5 separate regions of the Homo sapiens genome follow, and all the other regions are linked to region 4. Evidence: promoter capture Hi-C in 16 types of primary human blood cells and fetal thymus (Javierre and others, 2016). All regions are on one chromosome and are shown on one strand. The core of a region is centred on a gene start or on the middle of the fragment in contact, and the rest is flanking DNA. Distances in the headings are between cores, read along the strand shown.

Region 1 (5,738 bases), core at 2,707-5,206, 750 kb after region 4:
GGTTTATTCAATGGGGCCAAAGTAAGAATGTAGGAGAGAAAATTTCTCAAATCCATCTGAAAAAACAAAGCAGCATCAGGGGATGTTTATTCAGCCAGAAGATAAGGAAGGGGGAGATTAAGGGAATTGAGGGGAAAAGTGTGTATTTCTTCAGTCTCAGATAACATCTTGGCCAACAAGACTTCTCGGTGTCAACAGCTGGTAACAATGTCCTTCAAGGCATGTATTTCTTCTGCAAAATGTTTCTGTGACCCTCCTGCTTGAAAAAGAAAATTATCTCTTCCTGCTTGACAACAGTATATCAACAATTTATAATTTTATTGTAGAAACAAGGGATGCTGGCTTTTGTGCAAGCAAGCAAAGGTTTAATTAGAAATTTCATTATTTCAGTCGCTAAAAATGCTGGGGTGCTGAAATCTCAAGGGGCTTGGTTATAATAATACAACACTAAACAATAGCTATTATTATAAAACTGAGGAAATAAGTCTTATAAAACTTTATTTTTGTCTAAGGTAACATTCTGTAATACAAAATAACATTGGTTTTGGAAATGGCTTCTTTCTTTGAAGTCATTTTTTTTTTCAGACATTTGATCTAAGCACATAGACTTTATGATTAGCTTTTAGTTCCTGGTTCACTTGATGATGTTTTTCCTGACATTTCCATGATTGCATGGAAGCTTTTGGGCTTGCAATATCATAAACAAGCTAAGATGAAAGTGAGAATAAGGAAGATGAACTTGTTCTGCATTATCCGTCTCTGAGAGTACCCAGGGGCTTCACCCTCAGCCTGAGGACAAACTGTCACTGTTCAGAGCAATCTGAGATGTGCATTCAAATACATATATTTGTATGGTATCAGATGGCACCCAATTCTCCTCCATGCTCCTTCCAATCTATATGACCTCTATGGATTTTTCTTCTTTTGCTTTTCTCCTAGGTCTGCATCATGTTTTCAGATCCTATGATTATTTCATGTTGGCGTTGATGGATTCAGCAAGTAAAACTACCAGACACACAGTTACATCTAAAAAGCAGAAAGACAACTACTAACTCTGTAGTATAAGTATTTGGATACTCTATATGTAATTCATTATCTGAAATTTATTTAACTGACTATCTTTTACTTTATTTGTTAACTCCAATCTGTGAGAAACATAGTCCTCTCTAGTCCAGGCTCAACACCAATGCCCTCCAGAGTCTCCTTGGAGAGGGAGGGCTCATGCTGATGTAGGAGAAACACTTTTTTATTAGTACATCAGAGTTATTTAGAGTGAAGAGCATACATTAGAGGTGATGAACTGGATATCCCATGTGGTAAGAGAAGAAAATATTAAAATTTTAATCTTTTCTATTATTTTTATCTCTTTTGGGTATATGAACTATCATATAAGAGGATAAAAATAAAATAATTCAGATATAAAGTTATTAAATAATTTCATGAATATTAGCATTTTATGTCCAAATATTGTTTTACTTGTATGGGTTTGTGAACCTTAAGATGTGGAGACCATTGAGCCTTTAAGGCAATATTCTTCTGGCAATTCTCTGGCTTCTTATTGTTAGCAGACTTCTGAATGATTCTACTCCGAGGTCATGCCAAGATGGTCTTCTGTTGTTGGATAAAGTCCTCTATCAGGGAAGAAATAAGTTTATTGGGCTGTGTTTTCTTGTTATCTGGGGGATTGAAAAACACTAAGTGTTGGTCTCTGTTTTTCTCAGTTGAGTTAGGGGAATAACATGCATTGCCACAAAACAATTCCTTCAGTTCTGGAGTCCTTAAGCAGACTGTCTTCTTCATACCACCTTTCAGAGCTCTCCTTTCAAGGCTTCCTGTGTGATTTTCAAGGTTTATAGCTGTAGTTAGTGGAGAAATGCAGGGGGAAATGGGTCTGTTATAAGAAAAATTTTAGACTGTAATATTTCCCTGTCCCACAATCTGGAAGGGAGCCGAGACTAAATAATGATCCAGACCAATCCAGCTTGGCAAGTAGATAAGTGTGTTAAGACTTACATGTGGGACCCTCCTAGGAGGCAGCAGGACAGCGTTAGAGTCCACATCACCTCCCATCTCTAAGCTGCTTTTAAGCACTTTTACAGCTTTTTGCCTACCATGTGTGTATCATGGGACTCTCCCTTGGTATGTTCTCAGATACTCTCTAGGATGTTTGCATTCTCAGAAACACCTGCTCCTCAGCTGGTCCCCATGGCCTTGGCTCACTACCTGGCCTTCAGTGCTCAAGCAGTGGATATACACCTTTAAGTTATCTAGTGGAGGACTTGTCACACTATAGGGTCTACATCATCCTTTCCAAACTCAAAGTTTCTACTCACAGACTTTTTTGTTGACTAAGGATTCTTCTGACATCCTGAACTAATTTAAGATTGCCTGGAAAGTCTTCCAACAAATCAGTAATAAAATGTATTCCTTATATCCTATGTCATCTTGAACATAATGGAATACATGGCCCAAAAAAACTCACCAGTGTTAGCCCACCAGCGTTGTAGTACCACAAAACAAGAGAAACATGATAATATAAATAAAGAAACTGAGTGTGCTGCCTTCTATTGCATTATAACAACATCAGCAAATGACTGACACCCTCTCCCCTGATTTTCAGGCATTAAAATTAGGGTTCTGTGGGTTAATCTTATATCAATATGGAGGGCTCTTTCTTTTTGATGACATTACCATTTAAATTTGTAATCTTTGAGTAAGCAGATTGTCCTACATACTGCGGGTTAGGCCTCATCCAATCATTTGAAGGTTTAAATAAAACAAAAAAGCCAGCCTTCCTGAGCAAGAGAAATATCTCCATTAGATCGCTTTTGTACTTTATCTGCACCATTAACTATGTCAAATTTTCCTCAAAATTAAAACTGGAATTGCCCTCTCAGATCTCAGTCTTAATCTTCTCAGCCCACATTGCAGATTTGGACTTGCCAGTCTCCATAATCAAATGAGCCTGTGTGTGTACATATATATATACACACACATACATGTATATGTATATTATATACTATATTATCATACACAAACATACACACGTGTGTGCATGTGTGCATGTTATCATATAGTATATAATATGTATTATAAGTATTGAATTATACACTACATATATTAAGGTTAAATGAATTCATAAGGGAGAGCCCTTATTCTGGTAGGAATGGTATCTTTATAAGAAGAGGAAGGGACACCAGAAAGCTCTTTCTCCACACACAGAGAGGAAAGCTATATGAGAACACAGAAGGGAGCCTCCAATAAGCCAGGAAGAGACGAGTTACTGGAAACCAACCCTGCATAATAGGACCTTGATCTTGGACTTAAAGCATCCAGAATTGTAGAAAAATAATTGTATGCTGTTTAGTCCATCCAGTTTGTGGTACTTGTTATGAAAACTTGAGATAATTTATACAATATACCATTGGCTCTATTTCTCTAAAGAATCTTGGCTAATACAGATTTTGGTACTAAGAGTGGTTTTATAGGAATGACCTGGATAAATCTTATTTTTTGGTTCTGAAGTTTCTGTATTGGGCTCAATAATTTGATTAAATTCAGACACTATTAATTATTTCCAGTAGTAATAAGAGCATTGATAGTGCATGTCATGACATGGCAAAAAAGGTGCAGAATATTGCCATTGAATACCCCTAATGAAGCATTTTTAGAATCAAGAACCTGGACAACCATGCCTATAATACTTTGAAACATTTTTGTCAAAATAAAAATATATGAATATTGACTGGTTGTTTGTAATGTCCGTGGACAAAGTGGGGAAAGAAAAGAATGAGCTCAGAAAAAAAAATGTGTATGCCAAATTCCACGTTCATGACCTTAAAGCTTCTATGTCTGCCATGAAGATGCTTATCTCCAGTAACCACAAGGCCAAGATTGCTGAAAACCAAATGCAGAATCTCATCCTGTGAGTACCTGAATTACAACACAAATTAAATTACCAGACTAGTGTCATGTCAAATATCAAAATGACGACAGAAGAGAATGGGAACCTATATTCAGCATTCTTAAAGAAAATAATTTCTGACTAATAATTTTATATCCAGCCAAATTAAGCTTCATAAGTGAAGGAGAAATAAGATCCTTTTCAGGCAAGCAAATACTAATGAAATTTGTTACCACCAGACCTGCCTTACAAGAGTTCCTGAAGGGAGTGCTACATATGGAAATAAAAGACTGTTATCAGCCATTATAAAAACACATTTGAATACATAGACCAGTGACACTATAAAGCAACCACACAAACAAGTCTGCATAGTAGCCAACTAACAACATAACAGGATGAAGTCTGCACATATCAATATTAACCTTGAATGTAAGTGAGCTAAATGCCCCAATTAAAAGGCATAGAGTAACAAGTTAGACAAAGAAGCAAGACCCAATGGTATGCTGTCTTTGAGGGAAACATCTCACATGCAATGATACCTGTAGGCTCAAAGAAAAGGGATGAAGAAAAATCTACCAAGCAAACAAACAAACAAAAAGCCTGGGGTTGCTATTTAATTCCAGACAAAATAGACTTCAAACTAACAAAGATCAAAAAAGACAAAGAAGGACATTACGTAATGGCAAAGAACTCAATTAAACAAAAAGACCTAACTATCCTAAATATATATTCATGCATCACAGGAGCACCCAGGTTCATGAAGCAAATTCTTACAGACCTGTGAAGAAACTTAGATAACCACACAGTAATAGTGGGAGACTTCAACAACGAATTCAGAGTTATTAGACAGATCATTGAGGCAGAAAACTAACAAAGGTATTCAGGACCTGAACTCGACACTTGACCAAATGAACCTAATAGAGATCTACAGAACTCTCCACCCCCAAACACCAGAATACACATTCTTCTCATCTGCACATGGCACACACACTCTAAGACTGACTGCACAATTAGATATAAAATAATCCTCAGCAGATTTTTAAAAAATCATACCAACCACAGTCACAGACCAGAGAGAAAGAAAAATACAAATTAATACTAAGAAAATTGATCAAAACCATACAATTACTTGGAAATTAAACAACATGTTCCTGAATGACTTTTGGGTAAACAATGAAATTAAAGCAGAAATTATGAAATTCTTTGAAACTAATAAAGATACAACATACCAGAATCTCTGGAACACTAAAGTAGGGTTAAGAGAGAAACTTATACACTAAACACCCACATCAAAAAGTTACATCTGAAATTGACAACCTAACATCACAACTGGAGGAACTAGAGAAACAAGAACAAACCAACCCCAAAGCCAGCAGAAGACAAGAAATAACCAAAATCAGATCTGAACTGAAGGAAACTGAGATTTAAAAAAACCCATATAATAGATCAATAAATTCAGAAGTTGGTTATTCGAAAGAATTAATAAGATAGATTGACTACTAGCTAGAAGATTAAATAAAAAAGAGAAAAGGTTCAAATAAACAATCAGAAAAAAATGGGACATTACCACTGATGCTGCATAAATACAAAATACCCTAAGAGACAACTACAAACTTATGTACATAAAAGCTAGAAAACCTAGAAGAAGTAGATACATTCCTGGAAACATACAACCTCCCAAGACTGAACTGGGAAGAAAGTGAATCCCTGAACAGACCAATAATGTGTTCCAAAATTGAATCAGTAAGAAAATACCTACCCACCAAAAAAATCCCAGGACCAGATGGATTCACAGCAAAATTTTATTAGATGTGTAAAGAAGAGCTGGTACCAT
Region 2 (6,085 bases), core at 1,380-3,879, 520 kb after region 4:
GCCCCTGGCGGCTCCGGGGTCGGGGCCCGGAGTCTCCTCGGTCACACGGTGCGGCTCGGCCGGCAGCTGGGACCCCGGGCGCCTCGTCCCGTCCCTGCGCGACGACCTTGGTCCTGCCTTGAGCCCTCTCTGGGCAGTTTCGCGCCCGCAGCCCCGTGTCTCCCCGCGTTGTGCGGTGATGACGGGAGGGGCCGTAGGGGAGAACCCCGGCTCGGGGTTCGGGCGTGGGAGGAGCTGTGGTCCGTGGGGTCCGTAGTCCTTTCTTTCTTTTGTTAAAAATTAAACTGAGGTTTGGTTAAAACGTTAAAGATTTTATCTGAGCAAATAACGACCCGTGAATCAGGAAGCCACAACCATGGATTGTGGTTTGGGGTCCACCGGAGGGGCTTGAAGGAAAGGGTTTAATAAGATGCATGAGGAAGCAAAGCCAATTCAGTAATTGATTGGCTACAATTACGTAGTCCCCTTATTTGAACTGTCCAGGCGGAAATTCCCTGATTATGTAATCAAAGGTTAATTGGTGGTTTGTGGTTGGTTAAGAGTGTTTTCTTTTCCTTTAAGTTATTTCTAAGAAATGCATGAGTTACGTTTTGGTTTTCTTAGGTAGAAACCCAGGGCACTACAGCCACTTCAGTCAAATTGCCTCCCATTTAATTATTTTAACACCCCACAGGGGGACTGATTTTCCCTGCATTTTCCAAATCTATGGCAAGGAGGGTCTCAAATCCACCACCCTGTTCCCCCAACCTAATTCTTCTAAGGCTTTCAGTAAAATTCTAAATTTTCACTTCCTTCTCCTGATTCTCAACTGCCAGCTTCCCCTCTGCAATTCACAACGTTATCAACTATTTGCTCTTTATTGTAGATTTCAAGCAGATGCAGCCTGACCATTAGGGCCAAGGCCAAATTGCAAAAAAAAAAAGAAGTTTGCCTTTATTCTACTCCATCCACATCTAAACTTTGGAGGTCAAGGCTGTGGACAGATCAGAAGACATAGTTCCCTCCTTCTGGGGCTCCACATCCTTCATTCACTGATCTCTGGGAAGGAGGATGGGTGGCAGGTAGGCAGCAATAGTCTACCTGTAGACACTTTCACCTAGGCCTTGAAGGATGAGTCAGTGTTTGCCCGACAGACTGAGATGTCAGGGGCAGCATGGAAAAGCAGAGAGGTGGGAGGGCAGGTTTCAGGTATTCTCAGTCCTCTGTGGTTTGGGGAATGTAGACCTAAGTGCAGGAGCCGGCAGGAGCTGGGGTTGCCTTTAGGCTGGTGCCTGAGAACACGGGCTTAAGAAGCTTGATTTTGGCTGGGTGTGGTGGCTCATGCCTGTGATCCCAGCACTTTGGGAGGCTGAGGCAGGCGGATCACCTGAGCTTAGGACCAGCCTGGCCAACATGGCCCCGTCTCTACTAAAAATACAAAAATTAGCTGGGCGTGGTGGCACATGCCTGTCCCACCTACTTGGGAGGCTGAGACAGGAGACTCTCTTGAACCCAGGAGGCGGAGGTTTCAGTGAGCCAAGATCACACCACTACACTCCGGCCTAGGCAACAGAGCAAGACTCCATCTCAAAAAAAAAAAGCAGCTTGGTTTTGTGAGCAGTGTGCTTCTTAGAAGGGTTCCAAGGGGCATTCTTGAAATAGGAGATGGGAAATTGAGGTTGGGTGACTAGATAAGTGGTGGGGGGCCTTCACACGCTGAGACCAGTTTGTGGAGGAAGATGAATTTCATCCCTGCAGGATGGGTCTTCCATGATACTGAAGGGAGAGCCACATGTTGATGCCCAGGACCAGCTGCCTCCTTGGTCTGAAAGGCCTGATCGAGGCCAGGATTGGCTATGAGAGCTGGGAAATGGGACCATCTTTGAAGCCATGGGAGAGGGTGAGGTGAGAATGAGGAGAGGCTGGGGGGCCCAACACTCCCAGCTCAGGACTGGAGGAAGAGGATGGAGCTGGAGAGGGAGGGACGAGGGTGTGGCATTGGTCAGGGAGGAGGAAAGGAAATGAGCAGTGGCCTGGGTGCTGGTGAGTGGACAGATGTACCTGGGCTGGAGAAGCCCCTGGGGCTTGGCCCTGAGGGTGGCCTTGGTGATGTGGGGAGAGTGGTTTGGACAGCGAGCTCAGGTGGAAGCCAGACTGTGGTGGGCTAAGGAGCAGTTGAGGAGGGAGGCACAGGATGTGAAAGGGAGAAGGTGCAGCTTGCAGGTGTGCCGAGGGTGAGCTGGGACTGTGGAGTCAAAGCTCTGGAGGGCACGCGGACACCGTTCCATATGACTTGTGTCCATCCAAGTGGGGTGAGGTGGACAGCCCTCCCTCACCAGCAAGGCCCAACCAACTCAGTGCCTTTCTTGTCACCCCCAGAGCCACCATCACTCATGTTCTTGAATGGGAACTGCCTGGAGACCCTGAAGAAGAAGGAGCCTGAAGGAGGAAGGAGGAGGCTGAGCCATCCCGGGAACATGGGCTGGATGAGGCCAAGCCAGGAGACGACACCACCAGATAGAAGTCACCATTCAGGATTTGGACTTTTCTGTGGAGATCCTGGCCCCGAGATCGAACCCTTCTCCCTGTGGGTATGATGGAGGAGGGGATCTGGGGACCAGGGCTTGAGCCTGCTGGGGAAGATGATGCTGGAAAACTCAGCCTTGCCCTGGCTCTTTCTGGCCCTGTGCTATAGGCAGGAAATGGAGGGCCCTGGGCCCTGCCCGGGGTCACTCTGCTAATGTGGTGGACCTGGGAATGGAGTCCGGGTTCAGTTACTGCCTTATTGCTAGAGGACAGCTACCAGCTGGGCCTACCAGCCCTGTTCAGGGAGAGGAGTGGGAATGGGTGGGTAGTGTCAGGTCCCAGGATGCCCCAGCCTCTTGGCTCTGTGCCCTCAGGCAAGTCACCTCTCTATGGGCCATGGCCTTACCATCTGTCACCGGGGCCTGGAGGGTGGTATTGGGTGTTCTCCAAGGACAGAGCAAACCCGGAGGACTTGCAAGCTGGTAACTTGGTGGGGAGCCTGGCAAGACCCTCTCATGTCCTCTCTACTCACAGGCTTGGGCCCTGGAGCACCCCTTCAGGAAGGAAAAGGCCATTTGCCCTGGGGCACTCAGCCCTTGGCACTAGGCAAGGGCAAGAGCAAGCCTGCCGTTCCCCCTCCCCACTTTCTTCCATCTCCCTCTCCTTGGCTCGGGGGTTGCTCTTAGGCTGCAGGAAGAGTCAGTGGGGCCAGGCTCTGTCCTGCACTTAGGCACACAGGTGCCAATGGGCATGCTGTATATGGACAGGGCCTGGAATGTAAAAGCCCAAAAGTGGGAAACTGAGTATTTGAGACACTTATTCTCAGGACCCAGGTGTTTTGGGCTGGGGAAGGGGTATGTCCTTGCTCCCTACCATGTGGCCTCTGACCGGGCTGGTCCGGGCCTTCTCCCTGGCAGGTGTTCCCGCAGGAGATGGTGCTGGAGATCCACCAGCTGTTCATGGACCATGAATACCCATGTCACCACATCACTTCTCACTGCACCTGGGTGGCAGCACACTGGACCACGTCTCAGAGCTGCGCAGCATGGCAGGGCTGCAGGCGGGCTTGCTGCTCCACGTGGTGGAAGGTTGGTCTGGAAGTTGGGCAGCCTGCCCAGGGAGGGCCCCTGTAAGCAGGGCCGGGCAACACTGCACTGCCCCAGCTGGTGTCTCTATTTCGCAGATGAGCATATGGAGGTGGGATTGGAGCACAAGTCTGCTTTTCAGGGCATCATACCTGCACTCTCTAACTTCATGGCCCAGGGGTGAAAAAACAGTTGAAATTCTGAAAAGAAAGTCAGGCAGTATGAAGCTAGGGCTTGGAATCCGCCCTATTAAATTATGAAAAGATGAGTGCTTAGTTTCCTAAAGAAACTAAAGTTTCACAGTCCTTGAGTGGGGAAGTCGGCTCCAAGCAGCACCATCAGCTGGTGTAGTGAGCCTGGCTTGGTTGTCAAATAAAAGCTTCCGTAGACTCAAGTTCTCTGGGTGAAGCACTCAGGTTCCCAGGGCCTGACTACTTGTGGAAAAGGTCTGTAGCTCAAGGGGGCCCACAGTTCATCACAATTTCTCCCTTCCTCCAAAACAATGACCATTAAAATCCCATGAAACTCAATGGGGGCGTTAAATTTGGCAGCCCTAGAAAGTTGTCAGGCCACCCCTGCATGAAGGCTGCCCCAGGAGAGCAGGGTGAGGCTGCAGAGGCCTAGCGCACAAAAAGCAGGAGGCCTTTTGTGGGCTCCCCAAGGCCTGTGTGTGCTTCAGAAGCAACTGGCAGGAGGTTCTTTGCAATCAAGGATTCTTGCCCTTAGCAAGCCAGGGTGTGTTGTGTGTGTGTTTGTGTGTGTGTGTAGGTGCGCACGTGCACACGTGTGTATTGAAACCAAACTCTAGCTTATGTGTCCATAGTGGAATTTGAAAATGGAAGCCTAAAGTTGAAAATTAAAATTATCCATGAAGTTTCCTTGCCAACTATTTACTAAGCTGGGTGGGTTGTTCCAGGGTGCAGGGCCCTGGTAACACCCTCCTCTCTCCTGTTCCTGACAGAGCCCTGCACAATGCACAAGGCCCACGGTGATGAGTGCCACATTTGAGACTGCTCAGGAGCCTGGACCCAGCTGATGCAGCTCCTTGTCCTTCCTGAGCGTCTTCACTGACAGTGGCCTGAGAGGTGTGGAGGCATTGGGGCCAGAGATTGGGCAGGGGGCAGAGGGGCAGGGAACAAGGAGGCCAGAGGCTGACGAAGGGGGCTTAAGGCCAGGCCTTTCTACCTGGAGGGGCCTGGGCCTGAGGAACCCAGACCAGGGCCACAGTTAGAGGCAGCTGGCCCTGGGTGCTTGTGTGCTGACCACCAGCCTTGGGTCTCACAGACGGCAGGAGCAGAAAGACTTGGAGATGGACCCCACCGACTGCACACCACCCAAGTACATCCTGCTAGGGACCCTGGAACAGCCACTGTGTCCCCTGCAACCCCAGAACGGTGACTAAAAGGTGGGACTCCAGGGAGGAGCAAGGAAGAGGGTCCCCGGGTGGGTGGAGGGCCACACACCAGGAGGCCTGGCCCATTCATGCTTGGCCATTCCTGCAGCCCCTGAAAGTGCTCACCGTGAGCGGCTGGTACCTGTCCCCTGGGAACTGCAAGATGCACAGGACCTTGTGTACCTGTTTGTGATCACAGCCGAGGACCAGCGAGGTAGCATTACCACATCCACACAGGGCTTTTACCATAACTGGTGAGTCCCTGCCAGCCTACCAGGGGCACCCACTCAGGGACCACCCTCTTCTTGTAGGTCTCCAGCCTGTCACTTCAACCCCAAGCCCACCAGCCCCCGCTTCCTAAGCAATTCGCAGGGGAGCTGCTCTGCCAGATCTGACTGCCTTTTACAGAACATTGTGCCCTGCGTCAGGGGAAGGGGAGTGCCTTTGCCCCGTCTGCTCCTGCCCCGCTTCATGTCACACAGGGGTCTGGGATGATTTGGCTAGCCCAAACTCAGTGCTTCTGCCCAAAGAAATTGTCCCCGGGCCCCCAGTGCCCAAGTCTCCCTCTAGGGAGCTGTGAACCAGCTCTGGCTAGAGCAGCCGTGAAGCAGCGCCCATGTGCTTCTGACTCGCCTTTCAGGGCAGCATCTCAGGGCCAGGAGAACCCAGAGCAGGTGAGGGCCTCGATGAAGAAGGAGCCTGTGGCAGCGTCCTGAGATTGGTGGGTGGCCCCATCTGCCTTTCCCCTGCCTGCCTTGAGGTCCAGTACCACCCATTCGAGAGGGGGCCACCTCATTCCAGGTGTGCAGCTGGATGGCCCCTGTGACGGAGTACACTGTGGACTGCAGTGTGGAGAGGCATCTGCACCTCAAGGCTGGGCTGTGAGGAGCACATTCCTGCATAGGGGCCTGTAGCCTGGCCCGGTCCTCAGTGGGAACCCCCTTCCTTCCTGGGTGCCAGGTGGGGTTCTGTGCACTTCCCTGAGGCTCCCCACAGGTCTGTTCATTGGGGAGTCTGGGGCTGTCTGTGGGGAGAGAGGAGAAGGGACTTCCCAGAGCAGGTTGCAGTGCACAGGCTGAGCCCATGTCTCCCTCCCTGGTCC
Region 3 (5,565 bases), core at 1,443-3,942, 540 kb after region 4:
ACTGCCATTTCTCTTTAGTTTCCCTTTGCTTGTGGGTTGCTTTGGAGAGTGAAGGCTCTCACATTTGTTGACCGTAAATACTGGTTTTTGAAACTGGAAATTCTGAAACAAGCCTCACTTCTGTAGGTTTCCATTTTAATTTGCTAATTTCACAAGCATACACTCCTTTATTCTCTGTATTTTCAGAGAAAGATAACAACAATTAACATATAATTAATATATCTACTGTCTTAAAATTCTAAAATATAACAGCACTTAGAATAAATAAAAACTTGGGGAAAAGAACTAGACTCAGAAACACAAGCTCTTATTTTAGTTTATGTCATTGAATGTGTTAGTCTTCATAGTTTGTTAAAAAACAGAAAAAGCCATCATCCATATAGTTTTAACACAATTTAAAATATTTCTTAATTAAGAAATGTTCTGTCACTTTTCATGTATGTATAGTTACCATTTCTATGTACGTATGTGCGTGTGACATAAGCATCATTTGATCAGTTTTGTGTTGCTGCCTTCCTGTTTTCATCTTCTTCTCAGTTGTGACACCTGCTCTGAACATTCTTTTTTACTTATCTCTGCATATTGGCCTGTATGTCCCTTTAAAATGAATTCTAAGTTAGATACTGGGGTAAAATAATAAATAAAAAAATAAATAAATATAAATAAATAATAAAATAAGCTCTACTATATACTAGATATTTGGCAAAAAATTTTTTTTCAGGCTTGAGACAGAGAGGGGAAGGGTCAGCAAAATATTTTTATTAAAGAGGAAGAATAGTATTATTTCTCATATAGATTTTTGTGGTTTTTATCAATACATGAAAAACTGCTAGGATGACATCTAGTAAATAGTAAGTGTTCAAAAAGGATTCTACTATTCTTGCTATTATGTTATAACCTGTAAATTTCATAAAACTCTCAATTCCACATCATCCCTGAATTCTTCGTTCAGTGTTCAACCTCTCTGCTATTCAAAAGTGTGGCCTCTGGACCTGAGGCATTGGTGTCACTGGTAAGCTTGTTAAAAATGCGGAAACGCAGCCCCAGCCCCAGCCCCAGATCTCCTGAATCAGAATCTGCATTTGAACCAGTTCTGCAGTTTATTGCTGAACACAATAAAATTTCAGAAGTATGCCTCTAAGTCACCATGACTTTTCCACCTGAGAATTATATACAACTGATTGTGGATGATGTAAATATAGACTAAAAAATGTATACTCCTATGTTGATGCGTTAGTTTTTTGTTTTTTGTTTTTTTGTTTTTGTTTTTTGAGACGGAATTTCGCTCTTGTTGCTCAGGCTGGAGTTCAGTGGTGCAATCTTGGCTCACTGCAACCTCCACTTCCTGGTTCAAGTGATTCTCCTGCCTCAGGTTCCTGAGTAGCTGGGATTACAGGCATGTGCCACCACGCCCAGCTAATTTTTTGTATTTTTAGTAGAGATGGGGTTTCATCATGTTGGCCAGGCTAGTCTCGAACTTAGGTGATCCACCCATCTCGGCATCCCAAAGTGCTGAGATTACAGGTATGAGCTACCGCGCCCGGCCTCGATGCCTTAGTTTTATACTTTATATTCCATATAGGCATAGTATCTACACTGGTTTTGTGGATTTTGTATCATTCTCTTTCCACAGAGTTAGAGAATACATAGAAAATATTATTGTGTTTAAAAGTATCTTATTGAATATTTCAGGTCACTCATATAAATCAGTCAGTTTTCTTAGCTCTCTTATTTCATCTTGGTTTGTCAAGTGATGAACTCTGCCCATGGCCACATGGTCAATGTGCTATTTATTTTTATTTCAGGGACTGTTGACATTCAGGGATGTGGCCATAGAATTCTCTCGGGAGGAGTGGGAACACCTGGACTCAGATCAGAAGCTTTTATATGGGGATGTGATGTTAGAGAACTACGGAAACCTGGTCTCTCTGGGTGAGGATAACTTGCCTTTGGAATATCTAATATCTAATAACTAAGGGTTTTATTTCTTTCCTTTGTAGAATGTCACTTGGGAGCTTATGCTTTATATGAATGAATTCAGATTCCTGTTTCCAGGAAAAAAAAATTGTGGGTTTGTTGTAGAAAAGACTTCCTAATGTTTGATCTTGACATTTGCCTTCTTTCTTGAGGTGATGTAGAAGCTTCACTCTAGTTTAGTAGTGATTCTAGAAAATTGAGTGACATAAACTATCATTGCCCACACTTTAAAATCTAATTCCTTCTCCTTATTTTTGATTTAGTCATACTTGGAAGTGAAGCTCAGGATTCCTGTGTTTAAAATGCTTCCTGAATATTCTAAAGAAGCTGACAGGAAACAGTATTTGGGGAAGTAATTTTCTAGGATCCTCTATAATGTTCCCTCTTTACTGAGTATCCTACTGAGCTGGCAATTAAAGAACTCCCAGCAAGAGTCATGTGACTTTTTCTAATAAAACAGGTCTCGCTGTCTCTAAGCCGGACCTGATCACCTTTTTGGAGCAAAGGAAAGAGCCCTGGAATGTGAAGAGTGCAGAGACAGTAGCCATCCAGCCAGGTAGGTGGGAGTGAATGAAGTAGATGACATGGGCGAGAGGTCCAGAGATTAAGAAAGAACCAGACCTTGAAGTGTGGATTGGGAAGTTCTCCAGTGGAAATGATTTTTGAGACACCTGGGTTTATTTCTTTCTCTTGCTGCTGTCACAGAGGGACATCTTCTGTCTCATATTCTTAAATTATCTGATTATTCTCCTTACCCTTCTGTGATCCACCATCAAATTCACAGTGACAGCCAAAGTGCTCCCCTTGGCCTGTGAGGGCCTGCGTGATCTGACTGTTCTTCCATTGATTTGGGGGCTCTGGGAAAGTCTGTGCATGTTTCTACCTCTATGTGAAACCACTTCTAAAGTTCTGGTTTTGCCTCATGTCAGAAGTGTGTGAGGCGAGTGATGGACAGTAGGATTTTTTTCAGAAGTCCCAGGAATTCTGTGGATAGATGTCACATATTTTCTGGTATATTAATTTCTAATCCTATGGTGGTTTCCCAGATGATCCTACAAAAATTGAGACTCAGTAATTCATCAGAGTGCAAAACATCTTCCTAAATATAAAAAAAAATCTGATTCTGTATTTCACTTCAACTTTTCATCTTTCCTAGCCTAAACTAAGATTAGAAATATAATCTCTGTATGCACAAATTCCACAGATTTAAAATCATTTAATATATTACTTACTATGTAGAATTCTTAACTAAATGAATGTCTATGGGAAGCTTACAACATTGTCCAGTATATAGTGAACTTTCAACTCTTACCTTATATATTCATAACATTTTATAATTTTGTCTGGTTAACTGTGAAGCTTAATGAGAATGTGTTCTTTATGTTCGTTTTCTTTCTTTTCCTTTTCTTTTTTCTTTTCCTTCCTTCTTTCATGTGGATTTTTTTCCCACACTTGTAAATTATATATATTTAAGAGGTGCATCCTGATCGTTTGATTTTATATATGTATACATTGTGTATTGATTAATACAAATAAATTAATTAACATATTAATCATCTCACATAGTTGCCAGGTTTTTTGTGGAGAGAACATTAAAGATCTACTGTGGGCCGGGCGCGGTGGCTCACGCCTGTAATCCCAGCACTTTGGGAGGCCGATGCAGGCGGATCATGAGGTCAGGAGATTGAGACCATCCTGGCTAACACGATGAAACCCCGTCTCTACTAAAAAATACAAAAAAAAAATTAGCCGGGCGTGGTGGCGGGTGCCTGTAGTCCCAGCTACTCTGGAGTCTGAGGCAGGAGAATGGTGTGAACCTGGGAGGCGGAGCTTGCAGTGAGCCGAGATCGCGCCACTGCACTCCAGCCTGGGTGACAGAGAGCAAGACTCCGTCTCAAAAAAAAAAGAAAAAAAAAAAAGATCTACTGTGTTAGCAAATCTCAAGTATATATGAGTATTGTAAACTATATTCATAATGCTTTACATTAGATCCCCAGAATTTATCTTTTAAATGAAAGTTTGTACTCTTTGACCAGTATCTCCCCAGTTTTACCACCTGTCAGCTGTTGGGACCCGTTCTACACTTTACTTCTATGAACTCACCTTTTTTTAGATTCCACAAATAACTGATATTATACAGTATTTGTATTTCTCTATCTTATTCAATTACCATAGTTCCACCTGGTTCATTCATCCATGTTGTCAGAAATGGTAGAACTACCTTCTTCATTATGCTGAATAATATTCCACTATATATTTTGAATAATCAGCTGTGAACATAGGGGTGCAGATATCTCTTTAACATACTGATTTTATTTATTTATTTATTTATTTTTGAGATGGAGTCTCACTTTGTTGCCCGGGCTGGAGTGCAGTGGCGCCATCTTGGCTCACTACAACCTCCGCTTCCTGGGTTGAAGCTATTCTGCCACCTCAGCCTCCCAAGTAGCTGGGATTACATGCTTGTGCCACCCCGCCTGGCTAATTTTTTCGTATTTTTAGTAGAGACGGGGTTTCGCCATGTTGGCCAGGCTGGTCTCGAATTCCTGGCCTCAAGTGATCCGCACACCTCGTCCTCCCAAAGTGCTGAGATTACAGGCGTGAGCCACTGCTCCTGCCAGATTGTATTTCTTTTAGGTATATACTTAGAAGTGGAATTGAGGTTCATATGGTACTTCTATTTTTAATATTTTGAGGAGCCTCTATGCTTTTTCCCATAATGGCTGGATCAATTTACATTTCCACCAATGGCATACAACGTTTCCTTTTCTCCACACTGTCACCAACATTTGTGATCGCTTGTCTCTTTGATAGTAGACATTCTAACGGTATGAGGTGATATCTCATGATCTGATATCTCATTGTGTTATCTCTCTGTAAATGTGAGGTGATGGCTCATTGAGGTTTGGTGTTCATTTCCCTGATGATTAATTATATTCAGCACCTTTTCTTAAACCTGTTTGCTACTTTTATGTAATCCCTGGAAGACTTTCTAGTCAGGTCCTTTGCATATTTTTAAGTCAGATTTACTGGCAACTGAGTTGTGTGAGATTCTTACATCTTTTGGATATGAAACTCGTATCAGATATATTTTCTCCCAGTCCTTAGGCCAGTCCTTAGGTTGCCTTTTCATGTTGTTCTTTGTTTCCTTTGCTGTGCAGGCAATTTTTAGTTTGATGTAGTCCCGCTTGTTTTTGTTTTTGTTTTTTGATTTTGTTGATTGTGCTTTTTTGGTGTGAAATCTAAAAAATTAGTACCAAGGCTGATGTTGAAGAGTTTGTTCCCTGTGTTTCTTCTAAAAGTTATCCAGTTTCTGGTTTTACATTTAAGTGTTAATTCTTTTTGAGTTCATTTTTGTATATGGTATAAATGTTCAATTTCATCCTTTTGCTCATAAATATCCACCTTTTCCAGCATCATTTATTGAAGAGACCATCCTTTTCCCTTTGTGTATCTTGGTGCCCTTGTCAAAGAGTGCTAACTCTATACACATGGGGTTATTTTTGGTTTCCTTGTTCTGTCCCATTGGTCTATATGTCTTTTTAGGTCAATATAATACTCACTATTAGTATAGCTTTGTAATAGTTT
Region 4 (6,301 bases), core at 3,431-5,930:
GAGGCGCGTGGATCAGGAGGTCAGGAATTCAAGACCAGCCTGGCCAAGATGGTGAAACCCTGTTTCTACTAAAAATACAAAAAATTAGCCAGGCGTAATGGTGGGAGCTTGTAATCCCAGATACTCGGGAGGCTGAGGCAGAGAACTGCAAACTCCGGAGGCGGAGGTTGCAGTGAGCTGAGATTGTGCCACTGCACTCCAGCCTGGGTGACAGAGGGAGACTCTGTCTCAAAAAAACAAACAAAAAAATTAAATAAATAAATTAAAACTAACTAACTAAATAAATATCTGGATATCTGAGCTGGGTGCAGTGGCTCATGCCTCTAATCCCAGCACTTGGGAAAGCAAGGCAGGCAGATCATTTGAGGTCAGGAGTTCGAGACCAGCCTGGCCAACATAGGGAAACCTCATCTCTACTAAAAAAATTAGTTGGGTGTGGTGGTGCACATCTGTAATCCCAGGTACTCAGGAGGCTGAGGCAGGAGAATTGCTGGAACCTGGGAAGTAGAGGTTGCAGTCAGCTGAGATTGCAGCACTGCTCTCCAGCCTGGGTGACAGAGTGAGACTCTGTCTCAAAAAAAAATCAATATCTGATATACGTGTTTATTTTTTTATTGAGATGGAGTCTTGCTCTGTCGCCCAGGCTGGAGTGCAATGGCACAATCTCTGCTCACCGCAACCTCTGCCTCCCTGGCTCAAGCAATTCTCCTGCCTCAACCTCCCGAGTAGCTGGGACTACAGATGCGCGCCACCATGCCCGGCCAATTTCTGTATCTCTAGTAGAGATGGGGTTTCACCAGGTCGGTCAGGCTGGTCTCGAACTCCTGACCTCATGATCTGCCCACCTCAGCCTCCCAAAGTGCTGGGATTACAGGTGTGAGCGAACGCATCTGGCCCAATATCTGATATACATGTTAATTGAAACTGGGTGTGGTGGTCACACCTTTAATCACAGCACTTTGGGAGGATTCCCTTGAGCCTAGGAGTTCAAGACCAGCCTGGGCAACATAGCAAGACCCTGTCTCAAAAAAGAAAAATTTAACATTGACTTTCCTGTCAGAGATAGGAAGTAAATAAGACATTTATGGTGAACTTAAAGCACATATGGCAGCTAAAGGTGACAGTGTCTCACTCCAGCTGACCCTTGCCCTATGGAAGTGGGCCTGGAATGGCCCACTATTTTTAGTGTTGGCAACTAGTTAAAAAAATTAAAACATTCGAGGCAGGTGGATCACTTGAGATCAGGAGTTCGAGAACAGCCTGGGCAATATGGTGAAACCCCGTCTCTACTAAAAATAGGAAAATTAGCTGGACATGGTGATGCATGCCTGTAATCTCAGCTACTCGGGAGGCTGCAGCACAAGAATTGCTTGAACCCGGGAGGCAGAGGTTGCAGTGAGCTGAGATCACGTCACTGCACTCCAGCCTGGGTGACAGAGTGAGACTCCATCTCAAAAAAAAAAAAAAAAGAAAGAAAGAAATGGCCATTTGATTTAGTCTTTCAGAGTCACATATTTTTTTTTTTTTGAGGCCGAGTCTCATCTGCCACCATGCCCAGCCCAGAGTCACAGCTGGAGCCTGAACTCTGCCTCAGTGTCTTCCCCACTTGTGCCTTTGTCTTCGCGGTTCTGCCTATTATAGCCTTTCCTCCCTTGCTGCTTGGCAAACTTCTACTTATCCAGTAAGCCTTGGCTTCAGGGTTACCATCTCTCTTTAGTGTTCTGTGGTTGTCCACCTGATGGATGACTTACTCTGCTGGCAGGGTTTCCAGTCTTTGATTCCATGTGATGGCACTTACTACACTCAAGTACACTTTGTGGTCTGTGTGTCTCACCCACATTCACCCACTGGCTGGTCCTGTGGTTTAGGAACTGAGCTTTTTTTTATCCATATCCATCCAGTCGGCCCCATGATTGGAACATACTATGCAGTGCTCAGGCAATGTTTGCTGAAGCGCAGGGGTTAAGAGCAGGCTACCTGGCTTGGGAACCCAGCTTTGCCACTTCCTGTGTAGCTTCAGCATAACTTTCCGTCTTTCTTTTTTTTTAGAGACAGAGTCTTGCTCTACTCTATCATCCAGGCTGCAGTGCAGTGGCGCGATCTCGGCTCACTGCAACCTCTGCCTCCGGGGTTCAAGCAATTCTCCTGCCTCAGCCTCCTGAGTAGCTGGGACTACAGGTGCGCGCCACTATGCCTGGCTAATGTTTGTATTTTTAGTAGAGACGGGGTTTCACCATGTTGGTCAGGCTGGTCTCGAACTCCTGACGTTGTGATCTGCCCTCCTTGGCCTCCCAAAGTGCTGGGATTACAGGCGTGAGCCACCGTGCCCGGTCAACTGCCTGTCTTTCTATGCTTATTTCCTCATCTGTAAAATGTCATCCTTAGCAGGGCGTGGTGGCTCACACCTGTAATTCCAGCAATTTGGGAGGCCAAGGCAGATGGATCATCTGAGGCCAGGAGTTCGAGACCAGCCTGGCCAACATGGTGAAACCCCGTCTCTACTAAGAATACAAACATTAGCTGGGTGTGGTGGCGCACACCTGTACTCCCAGCTACTTGGGAGGTTGAAGTTGTAGAATCACTTGAACGCGGGAGGCACATGTTGCAGTGAGCCGAGACGGCGCCCCTGCACTCCAGCCTGGGTGACAGAGTGAGACAGTGTCCCCCCAAAAAAAAAAAAGATAAAATGTCATCCTCACATCAGCCTTTTGTTGTGAAAAATAAAATCAAGAGTTTACTCAGTCAGAACAGGGCCTGACAGTAAGTCTTGTTAAAGTGTTAGCTATTACATATTATAGATGAGCACAATGTATATCATTATTAAATGTCAGCTTTATTATTATTATTTGTTTTGAGACAGTCTTGCTCTGTTGCCCAGGCTGGAGTGCAGTGGCACGTCTTGGCTCACTGCAACTTCCGCCTCCTGGGTTCAAGCGATTCTCCCATCTCAGCTTCCTGAGTAGCTGGGATTACAGATGCGCGGACGACGCCTGGCTAATTTTTGTATTTTTAGTAGAGACGGGGTTTCACCATGTTGGCCAGGCTGGTCTCGAACTCCTGACCTCGTGATCCACACGCCTCGGCCTCCCAAAGTGCTGGTATTACAGGCGTGAGCCACCGCACCCGGTCAGCTTTATTATTAAATGTTAACTTCATCTGCTTTGTACACGAATGCATACCCAGTGCCCAGAACAGTGCCTGGAACATACTAGGTGCTAAATAAATATTTGTGACTTAATGCATGAATAAGGGTGGACTTCCTTTCTTTTGCTCTCACTGGAGAGTTGAACTCTCCTTCCAAAGGCGGTGGGGTGGATATTGGCATATTCAGGGCCTTTAGGGCTGAAGTCAAGGGCTTAGTGGGGCTTAATTTGTGGGCGGGCCCAGGGCATGGCCCTCATTGTTTCTCTAGAAAGACGTGTCCAACCCTCAAAGGACCTTCTGAAATCCCGCTGAAAGGTTAAGTTGGGAAGGAAAACCTGCATGCCTATGTATCAGGAATTAACGTCTTTTGTCTTGTTTTATTCAGTAGTTTCAAATTGCCTTCTCCAGGCAAGGCTGATGAAAGTGCAAGTTGCAAGTTAATTTGAATGTTTCTTTTTGCTTTTGCTCTCACAGGAAGTGAAAAGGCGACCAAACACTCTAGCATTCATGCCACCAAAAAGAGGAGTGTTTTGCAGTTACAAGACCTGGATTCGAATCACGACTCCTCTTAGCTGCCCTGTAATCAGGCACAATTACTTGGGTCTCTGAGTCTCACTTTCCTTATCTAGAAAACGGAGGTATCTTTACTTCCTTCGTAAGACTGATGACAAGGAAATTATCTGTGCATTTTGAAACCACTTAAGCCTTGTACACGTTTTATTTCTGGGATCGCCCTGGTAGGGCTTCAGAAAAATAAAAAGGAGGTCCCTGAGAAAAGGCTGGGTACCGTACATCTGAGGTCAACCCTCTCTGGTCCCAAGGATGGCCTGGGCTGTTCCGCCCCGTGGCTCCCCAGGGGCAAAGCCATGAGGATCCGGGTGAGAGCCCAGTGCTGGACGAGCCCGGGGCCCAGGGGTCCCGGCCGAAATCCCTGCTGTCTTTCAGGTCAAACGTCATAATCCCCGAACCCCAGAAAGGCCGAAAGGCAAGGCAACCCTGAAAGACGACGAAGTCAACCTCAGGGCGCAGGAGAGGGAGGGCCAGTGTGCTGCCGACGAGGGAGGCTGGAGCCGCGGGGACGAGGCGCCCCATACAGCGGCAAGAGGGTGGAGGGCAGGAGCTCGCCATCCTGGGTGAAAGCGGGGCCCAGCGAAGGGGCCCGGCCACAGGAATCTCGGTTCCACCCCGCTACTCCCGGCTGTGACTCCAGTTTCGTCCCCAGCCGCCGGGACCGCCCCCTCGCCCCGCCCCCAGCGGGCACTCAGGCCGTACCACTGTGCCTTCATGGGGGTGGAGATAGATCGTGGGCTAGTCCTGCCGAGGAGAGAGGGGTTCTTCCTCAAAAAATATGATTATGTATAGTATTCGCATGATTCTAGTTAACTTGTTTCCCTTCTGCCTGCTCGGACCCTCTACCTGCCCTACGAAGGGGGCGGAGTGCGTTCCTGCCTCCCCCTGCTCTTCCGCGTTTGGTGCGCGCCTGCGCGGTGCGTAGGCGGCGGAGCGTACTTAAGCTTCGACGCAGGAGGCGGGGCTGCTCAGTCCTCCAGGCGTCGGTACTCAGCGGTGTTGGAACTTCGTTGCTTGCTTGCCTGTGCGCGCGTGCGCGGACATGGCCTCAAACGGTAGGTAAGGGCGCGAGGCGACGGCGGCGGCGCACCCGGCCGAGGCCTCCCAGCTGGGCTTTTCGTTTTCAGTGGGACCGGGGCGGCGATCCCGTGTGGGATTTTTTGGCGCCCCTGTGGCGGGAAGCCGCGGAGAAGAGTAACTGGAGGAGGCTGGTGTCGCCATTTTGTTTCGCTCCTCTGGCCCTCGCGCGCGGGGCGGGAAGTCTTTTCTTTGCAGTCCGTTTGCTTGGGGTGGGCGTTGGGAGGGACGCTTCTTAGGGGTTTGAAGCGTCAGGTGAGGGTGGAAAACGCCCATTCTCCGTGGCCTCGCCTCCCCCAACTCCCGGCCCCGCGCTCGAGCCCGCTTTGTCGCAGTGCTGCATCCGGGCACTCGCGGCGCGCACGCGCTCTGCGGGCCCCTCCCCCTTCGCGGCGCGGGTACCCCTTCCCCGCCTCGTGTTGGTTCAGCTTTCTGTCGCGAGACCCTTCGCGGAAGACTCGGCGGCGCGCGTCCGGTGTGAGCCTTGTCCCTCAGTGGTCCTTCGCGAATGGGCGGGATCGCTCCGTTCCCGCCTGGGTTGCCACGCGGCTGGGGGCGGAGGCTCGGGATCGGGGCCGCCCTCTAGCTTAACGGTTTGGCGGCGGTGGTCAGGGTTCGACCAACGGACTTGGGGACGGCCCGAGAGTTTTTCCCGCCTAAATTTCTTTCTTTTTTTTTTTGGAGACACGGTCTTCCTCTGTCGCCCAGGCTGGAGTGCAGTGGTGCGATCTCAGATCACTGCAACGTCCACCTCCTGGGTTCAAGTGATTCTTCTGCCTCAGCCTCCTGAGTAGTTGGGATTATAGGCGCCCGCCACCACAGCCCGGCTAATTTTTGTGTTTCTTAGTAGGGGCGGGGTTTCACCATGTTGGTCAGGCTGGTCTCGAACTGCTGACCTCAGGTGATCCGCCCGCCTGGGCCTCCCGAAGTGTCGGGATTACAGACGTAAGCCAACCACGCCTGGTCTAAATTTCTTTTTTCTGAGATAGGGACGGAGAAGAACGGCCGCCCGAGGCCACACCCTCTCCTGGTCCTCTTTCCCTTTTCCTGCGGGGGAAGCGCCGCGTTTCCTGTGCTGGGAGGATGAGTTGATCTTGTTCGTGTATCTTAAGTGGGGCTTTTCAAAAGCGCTTTTGTTGCTTTTTGTTCGCTGGGGGAAGGCAGGGTAGGTGAGAAAACGGAACCATCTGGAGTCCCAGGGCTGGGGACTCGAGTACCTGTTGACTTTCGCCTCCTAAGGCGAGCAGTTGCATGATCTCTGTCATTTGGGGTCCAAGGGCTCTTTTGATTCTCTGGCTTTGCACTAAAAAGCCCACTTCATCTCCGGGATTGGTCAAAGAGTGAAGAATGGCCTTTTTTGAGACTTTCTTATTCTGTGGGTCTGGGCTGAGAGAGCAGAGGCCACAATCTGAACACTGTTCGAATTCAAACCTGTGCCACTTTGGTAGTTCTGCGACGTTGGGAGAGTTAGTCTCTTGACTCCTGGCGATAATGGCTTTCTCATAGAGTG
Region 5 (5,813 bases), core at 2,215-4,714, 670 kb after region 4:
AGAAAACATAAGAATGTGAATTTTTACCTACATTAACATTTTTTAAATAGATGCTAAAGAAAATTCAGAAGGAAAATAAATATTGCTAAACCAAAATTAAAAAAATGTTATCCAAACCCCTTATTAAAAAAATCTTGTTCCAACTGCATCAAAAAACCCACTGGGGCTCTCCAGCACAGGTTTAATACCAACAAGTTTCCACCTCCAGCGGCTCCTACAGAGGCTGCAGTGAGAGCCTGCGAGGGCGTGGGGGGGACAAACACTACAGGTGCAAGGGAGGGGGCCAAACAACTGTCAGACAGCACAGCCCAGCCCAGCCCAAGGCCAGGGGCTAGACAGTGGGGTCTCTGGCAGGAGCAAGGTCTGGGGGCAGTGCGGTAAGTCACAAGGACCCTCATCCCCACAAGGCCGCAATGCATGGTAGCAGTAAAGGCCGCAGGGAAGCCGGGACCTTAAGAGGGGCCAGGGCCACAGCATCCCCTAGGCTACATTGAACGGGAATGAAGCGGGAGGCGTCACCGTGGGGCTTCGGGCCCCAGGATATGCAAAGTTCTAACTTTCTGAGGGACCCCAAATTTTCCCTCAAAAACAACATAAGTAAAAATTAAAAAAGGAAATTTAAGTCAAAAACTACCTATAGGTTGCCTTACTTACATTCCACGGCTGATATCCGCACATTTAAAACAACAACAAAAAAATCAGTTTCTCAAAAATTACATACTTATTTTCCACTTTCCTTTTCCTCAAAACTAAAAGTCTTCTAGCACAGGTGCCACTCTTAAAATTTCCAGTAAACCAGCACCAGCCTGGAAACCATGTCCTTATCAAAGGATAAAAAGAAGAAAAACTCAAGCCAGCCTAAGAAAAACCCTACCTTGTGCTGCTAACCCACCAAGACTGCGGTTCCCACAGCAGAAGAGAATGAACACCACATACCCGAGTCAAAAAAGCGTCATCACCGTCAAAGTCATAGGCCGTTGTTCCAGGGTTAAGCCCTACCAAGTTAAAGCTATAAAAACGTAATCTATCTATCTTTTTTCTTTTCTTCCCTTTAACTACTTCCTATCTTATTAATATAACTAAATCTAACTCACCTCAAGTTACTACTTTTAATGCCTGTTTAGTTATCACTCCTCCCAGACACAAAAACAAGACCAAAGTCTCTACAGTAAAAATAAAAAACCTAAAGCAAACAATAACAATTAAAACAGGATATCAAAATGTAAATGGCTGGTTAAAATAAATTAAATATTTCATCTGCATCTAAATAAAAGTGACCGTTAAACACGTGTGCATGGTAGGCTAGAGGCCCAGGTTGTCCCCTTTCCACTCAAATAGTCCTCTAATCAACAAAACATGGACTACATGGTAGCTCCTTTTCAAAATCCTACAGCCTGAGATAATAAACTGTGTCAAACGCTCTCGCTACTATTTCCTAAAATGCAGTACCCTGCGGGTCAGCCCCCGAGGGCCATCTAGCCTCCATCTTCCAAGACCAATTTTACCTGGTGTCTCCAACAACAAGGGAAAAATTTAGTGTTCCTTGAAAACTTAATGCAGTGAAGTCAGGCACTTCCAAGAGCTGACCCATCAATCCCCCCTTATTCATCACCAAACAGGTATGTAATAATATTGTAGAAGACCTTTACTGAACACTCTGCCAAATAATTAAAGCAATATTTGTGCTCTAGTTCAATTGGCTATCCCTTTTACCGTGGCATTTCACCAACCAGAAAAACTTTTTCTTTTAAAAACTCAAGCAAAACAGCTAAACCAAAACATGTTAAAAAATTTTAAAGAAAAAAAGCTATAAAATCAAAAGGAAGGAATTGCAGAAAGTAAAAAGTTTCCTCTTCAAAGTTTCCATTCTTGTTACAGGATAAATAAGTGTTAGAAATAATAGTTTCTTTTAAAGACTAATTTCTTTCAAGCCTCCTTACTTTGTGCTAATAACTCTTTGTTTAAGCCCTATCCTATGTAGCTGTTAAACATGCTCACAGGCACATAGTACATTCTATGTCCTTGTGCCTTAACGGAAATACCTGTCCTGGATGTGCTCACAGGCATGTCCCAGCTCACAGCCTGTCACTTCCTTATTTAGGAATGTTATTACTTTTCTAAGTCCTTTCATAAACAACTTCCTCTTTTCATTTATCTTTCCATTGCTTTTACCTGTTTAAAAAATTTTAAGTTATTAGCCAATCAGGTTTTAATTTAAATTATGAAGTCTGTCTCCAGCCAATAAAAACAGGACACAAGAGCAGGGACAAGCTACATAAAAAATAAAAATTGCTTCCCTCCCTTGTTCAAATGTGCTCTTGCCATTGTTCCATCTGCAAGGAGCACCCTTTCTGCAGAAAGTAAAATTTCCTTGCTAAAAAAACCTTTTTGTCTAAATGCTAATTTTTCCTTACATGACCGAAAAACAAGCATTCTGTTTCTAAATAAACGTCTTACCTATAACATATACCATTACAAAATTACAAATATCCTTTCGAACATCTGTAAATTTATGTGCTCATGATATTAAAATTTATATTTTTATCTGAAAATAGTTATAATTCAGTGAGACACAAGAACAAAATTATGAGAGAGTTATCTACATCATTGAGAAAATCCTCCTGCCACTACCAACGTAAGTCGTGATCACTCACTTTTACTAAAGCTGAGAAACATCCATTTGCCCAGCGGAGTCCTGGAGTGAGTCTGTGTGTGTGGATGGTGGTCCCTGAGACTTGGTTATAAAGAAGGGATACTGTCAGCTCGTCTCCCTCCAGGCCCATAACTGTCATGTCACCTGTAGAAGCAGGACAGCCCTGGCCTCGAGATTATTGGAAAGGGGAGCAACAAAAGGAAAAACTGAACACATTTAATTCCTGGAAAAGATCAGTGTAGGACAGATGGGTTTCAAACTTTAACGTGTGCAAGCTTGTTTTCTTAGGTAATTTTGCCCAGGAGGGTTGTCTGGTCTCAGTTATTGCCAATAAAGTAGAAGCAATAACTATAGTTTCAAACTTTGTTTAATTTCTGTGTTGCTTTACCAAACATCCTTGCTAACTGAAGAAATTTCTGGGGGCCTTCACACATGGTCCCCAGTTGTCCCTACGTTTCAATATTACAGGTAGTCTATGTAAAACTTTTTTGGGAATGAAGAAAATGCCCCCTGCACCAGGCTTACATAGCGCTTACAGTGAAGTTGTTTCTACTTACAGGGATGTTTAACTACACAGTCAGCATGAGAGCATGTGGAATAAAATGATTAACACATTCTTAGCAACTGACAACTTTTATTTGCTTCTGAGACACCACCAACCACACCTATGTTATAACTAGTGCTAACTTTAACCTTGATCATGATTGCCACATTTGGAGTTACACTTTCTTAATCAAACATCATCTGATACTGAAGTGGTGACTTCTCATGCACTTAATCTATAGATTTTCCCCCAAGGCACCAGTTCTGAATATGTTTGAGTTCATGCTGGTGTACCTCTCATGTGCCATATCTGAGGCTCTAACAAATAAACTCTCCAGGCCGGGCACGGTGGCTCATGCCTGCAATCCCAGCCCTTTGGGAGGCCAAGGCAGGCGGATCACTTCAGGTCAGGAGTTTGAGACCAGCTGGCCAATACGGTGAAACCCCGTCTCTACTAAAAACACGGAAATTAGCCAGGCATCATGGCAGGCACCTGGAATCCCAGCTATTCAGGAAGCTGAGGCAGAAGAATCACTCAAACCCAGGAGGCAGAGGTTGCAGTGAGCTGAGATCGGGCCACTGCACTCTAGGCTGGGCAACAGAGCGAGATTCTGTCTCAAAAATTAAAATAAAATAAAATACAAAATAAACTTTCCATTCAGCTGCAGTCAGGACCACTTGATCCCCAGACTTCTACTGTCTTCAGTGACAATTCTCCCTGTCATCTTAAACCCAGCTGCCATCACTATGACGTTGGTGCTCAATCCAGTCAGTGTCCTTAGGTCTTGATTTATTTTCCTTCTCTGAAGCTTTTCAATTACTTCTTTATAAATTATTTTGTCTGATGCTCACAGAAAAAGCCTGCCTAATAAGAACCCTATACCCACAAAAACTAGCTATTAAAAATGAAGGTTAAATAAAAACATTTTATGTAAATAAAAACTGATACAATTTGTTGCTAGCCAACTGACCTTATGAAAAAATGGCAAAAGAAGTTTTTCAGGCTGAAAGCAAGTAAATCCAGACAATAATTTGAATGCATAAGAAAGACAAAGCACACACTAGCAAAACTAATTACATAATTATAAGACAGTGTAAGTGAATTTATTTATTTATTTATTTATTTGCACATGAATAAATTCTTTAGTGGCGATTTCTGAGATTTTGGTGCACCCATCTCCCAGGGGCCTAATAACAGCTCCAGAAGGCCTGCCATCACTGGTGCCCTAGCATGAGCTCCAGAGGTCTGGGACTTCCCCTGCCCTGCCCACAGCCTATGCTCATGTGCATCACTAGGAGGACTTGAGAACAGGCCCACCTCACCTGCCTCTCTCCCACCCTTAGTGGTCAAATATTCCACTTGTGGACCTGAGGACAGCATTGTACAGGTGGTAGCCTCTGGCATGAGTCCACCAGGGTCCTAAAAACAGGCCAAGAAAATGTGCAGCCAGCACTCAAGCATGCTGTCTAAAGGTCTAGGAATCTCCCATGCCATCCACCACTGCTGTCATCTGGGTACTCTTGGGGTCCTAAGGATGGGCCCACCCAGACAACCACCAGCATCCACACTCATGTGTCACCTAAGGCTCTAGGGACTGTCTGATTCAGCCCATTGCAGCCACCACAAACACTGTGAGTGCTGCCTGGAAGCCTGAAGTTGCCTCAACCCCACTACTCTCCTCATCCACACGGTACACACTGCTCAGAGGCCTGAGGACTTGCCCCATTTCCTAGCCCACTGCTGTTACTACAGACATCAGAGCAAGCCTCCTGAAGGCCTGAGAATCAACAGGCTTAGGCACACTAACACCAGTGCCCACATACACTACCCAGCAGCCCAAGGACAGACACCCTCAACCCTTTACTGCTGCCACTGTCACCATGGGGGCTGAAGGACTGGCCTATCTGGTGTTCCATTCCTACCAAAACCTCACCACAGCCTCAACTAGCAAACACAGCCTAAGCAAGGTTATACCTCATAATGAAGGAGAAATAAAGACGTTCCCAGACAAGCAAAAACTGAAGAAATTCATCACCACTAGACAAGCCCTGGAAGATTACCTAGACAGAAAATCAATAATGAAACATCAGATTTAAACTGTACTTTAGACCAGGGGTCCCCAACCGTCGGGTCACAGACCAATACCCACCCCTGGCTTGTTAGGAACCAGGAAGCTCAGCAGGAGGTGAGTGGCAGGTGAGCCAGTGAAGCTGAGCTCTACCTCCTGTCAGATCAGCAGCAGCATTAGATTGTCATAGGAGCTCAAACCCTATTGTGAACTGCACATGCCAGTGATCCAGGCTGTATGCTCCTTATGAGAATCTAATGATAAATGTAATGCACTTAAATTATCCTGAAATCATCCCCCTCCCCTAGTCCTAGGAAAAATTGTCTTCCACGAAACCAGTTCCTGGTGCCAAAAAGGTTAGGCACCGTTGCTTTAGACCAAAGGAACCTAACAGACATCTGCAGAACACTTGATCCAATGACTGCAAAACATACATTCTTCTCAGAAGCACATGGAACAGTCTTCAGGATAGACCCTCTGTTAGGCCAGAAAACGAGTCTTAACAAATGTTTAAAAATTGAAATCATATCAAGTATTTTCTCATACTA

Evidence for each region. The method cuts DNA at HindIII sites, captures the fragments that hold promoters and counts their contacts. A CHiCAGO score of 5 or more calls a contact.
Region 1: a fragment that was not itself captured here is called in contact with the fragment with the promoter of FUS in region 4 in 1 of 17 cell types (activated CD4 T cells); the score reaches 5.2 in activated CD4 T cells.
Region 2: a contact is called between a fragment that was not itself captured here and the fragment with the promoter of FUS in region 4, in 4 of 17 cell types (fetal thymus, erythroblasts, activated CD4 T cells and 1 more). The highest score is 10.1, in fetal thymus.
Region 3: a contact is called between a fragment that was not itself captured here and the fragment with the promoter of FUS in region 4, in 2 of 17 cell types (activated CD4 T cells and fetal thymus). The highest score is 5.5, in activated CD4 T cells.
Region 5: a contact is called between a fragment that was not itself captured here and the fragment with the promoter of FUS in region 4, in 2 of 17 cell types (endothelial precursors and M0 macrophages). The highest score is 6.7, in endothelial precursors.

Annotation. Positions count from the first base shown.
Region 1 is chr16:31,923,838-31,929,575 of GRCh38, forward strand. No RefSeq gene overlaps it. Among named protein-coding and RNA genes, the nearest start is that of ZNF267, 53 kb to the left of the region's middle. The HindIII fragment of the contact is 231 bases long and covers 3,842-4,072 here.
Region 2 is chr16:31,700,798-31,706,882 of GRCh38, forward strand. It overlaps the pseudogene CLUHP3. Among named protein-coding and RNA genes, the nearest start is that of KRABD5, 9.4 kb to the right of the region's middle. RefSeq lists a silencer at 20-169. The HindIII fragment of the contact is 2,676 bases long and covers 1,292-3,967 here.
Region 3 is chr16:31,720,821-31,726,385 of GRCh38, forward strand. It overlaps KRABD5 (KRAB domain containing 5), which reads left to right. Exons shown (of 5, transcript NM_001130913.2): 2 at 1,806-1,932; 3 at 2,438-2,533. Among named protein-coding and RNA genes, the nearest start is that of KRABD5, 10 kb to the left of the region's middle. The HindIII fragment of the contact is 1,106 bases long and covers 2,140-3,245 here.
Region 4 is chr16:31,175,459-31,181,759 of GRCh38, forward strand. FUS (FUS RNA binding protein) reads left to right here and starts at 4,681. Exons shown (of 15, transcript NM_004960.4): 1 at 4,681-4,769. The coding sequence starts at 4,757. RefSeq lists enhancers at 3,567-3,626, 3,918-4,678, 4,137-4,206, 4,679-5,440, 5,441-6,201 and 4 more and silencers at 4,367-4,436, 5,077-5,226, 5,347-5,396. The HindIII fragment of the contact is 6,651 bases long and covers 4,657-6,301 here.
Region 5 is chr16:31,850,195-31,856,007 of GRCh38, forward strand. No RefSeq gene overlaps it. Among named protein-coding and RNA genes, the nearest start is that of ZNF267, 21 kb to the right of the region's middle. The HindIII fragment of the contact is 1,077 bases long and covers 2,927-4,003 here.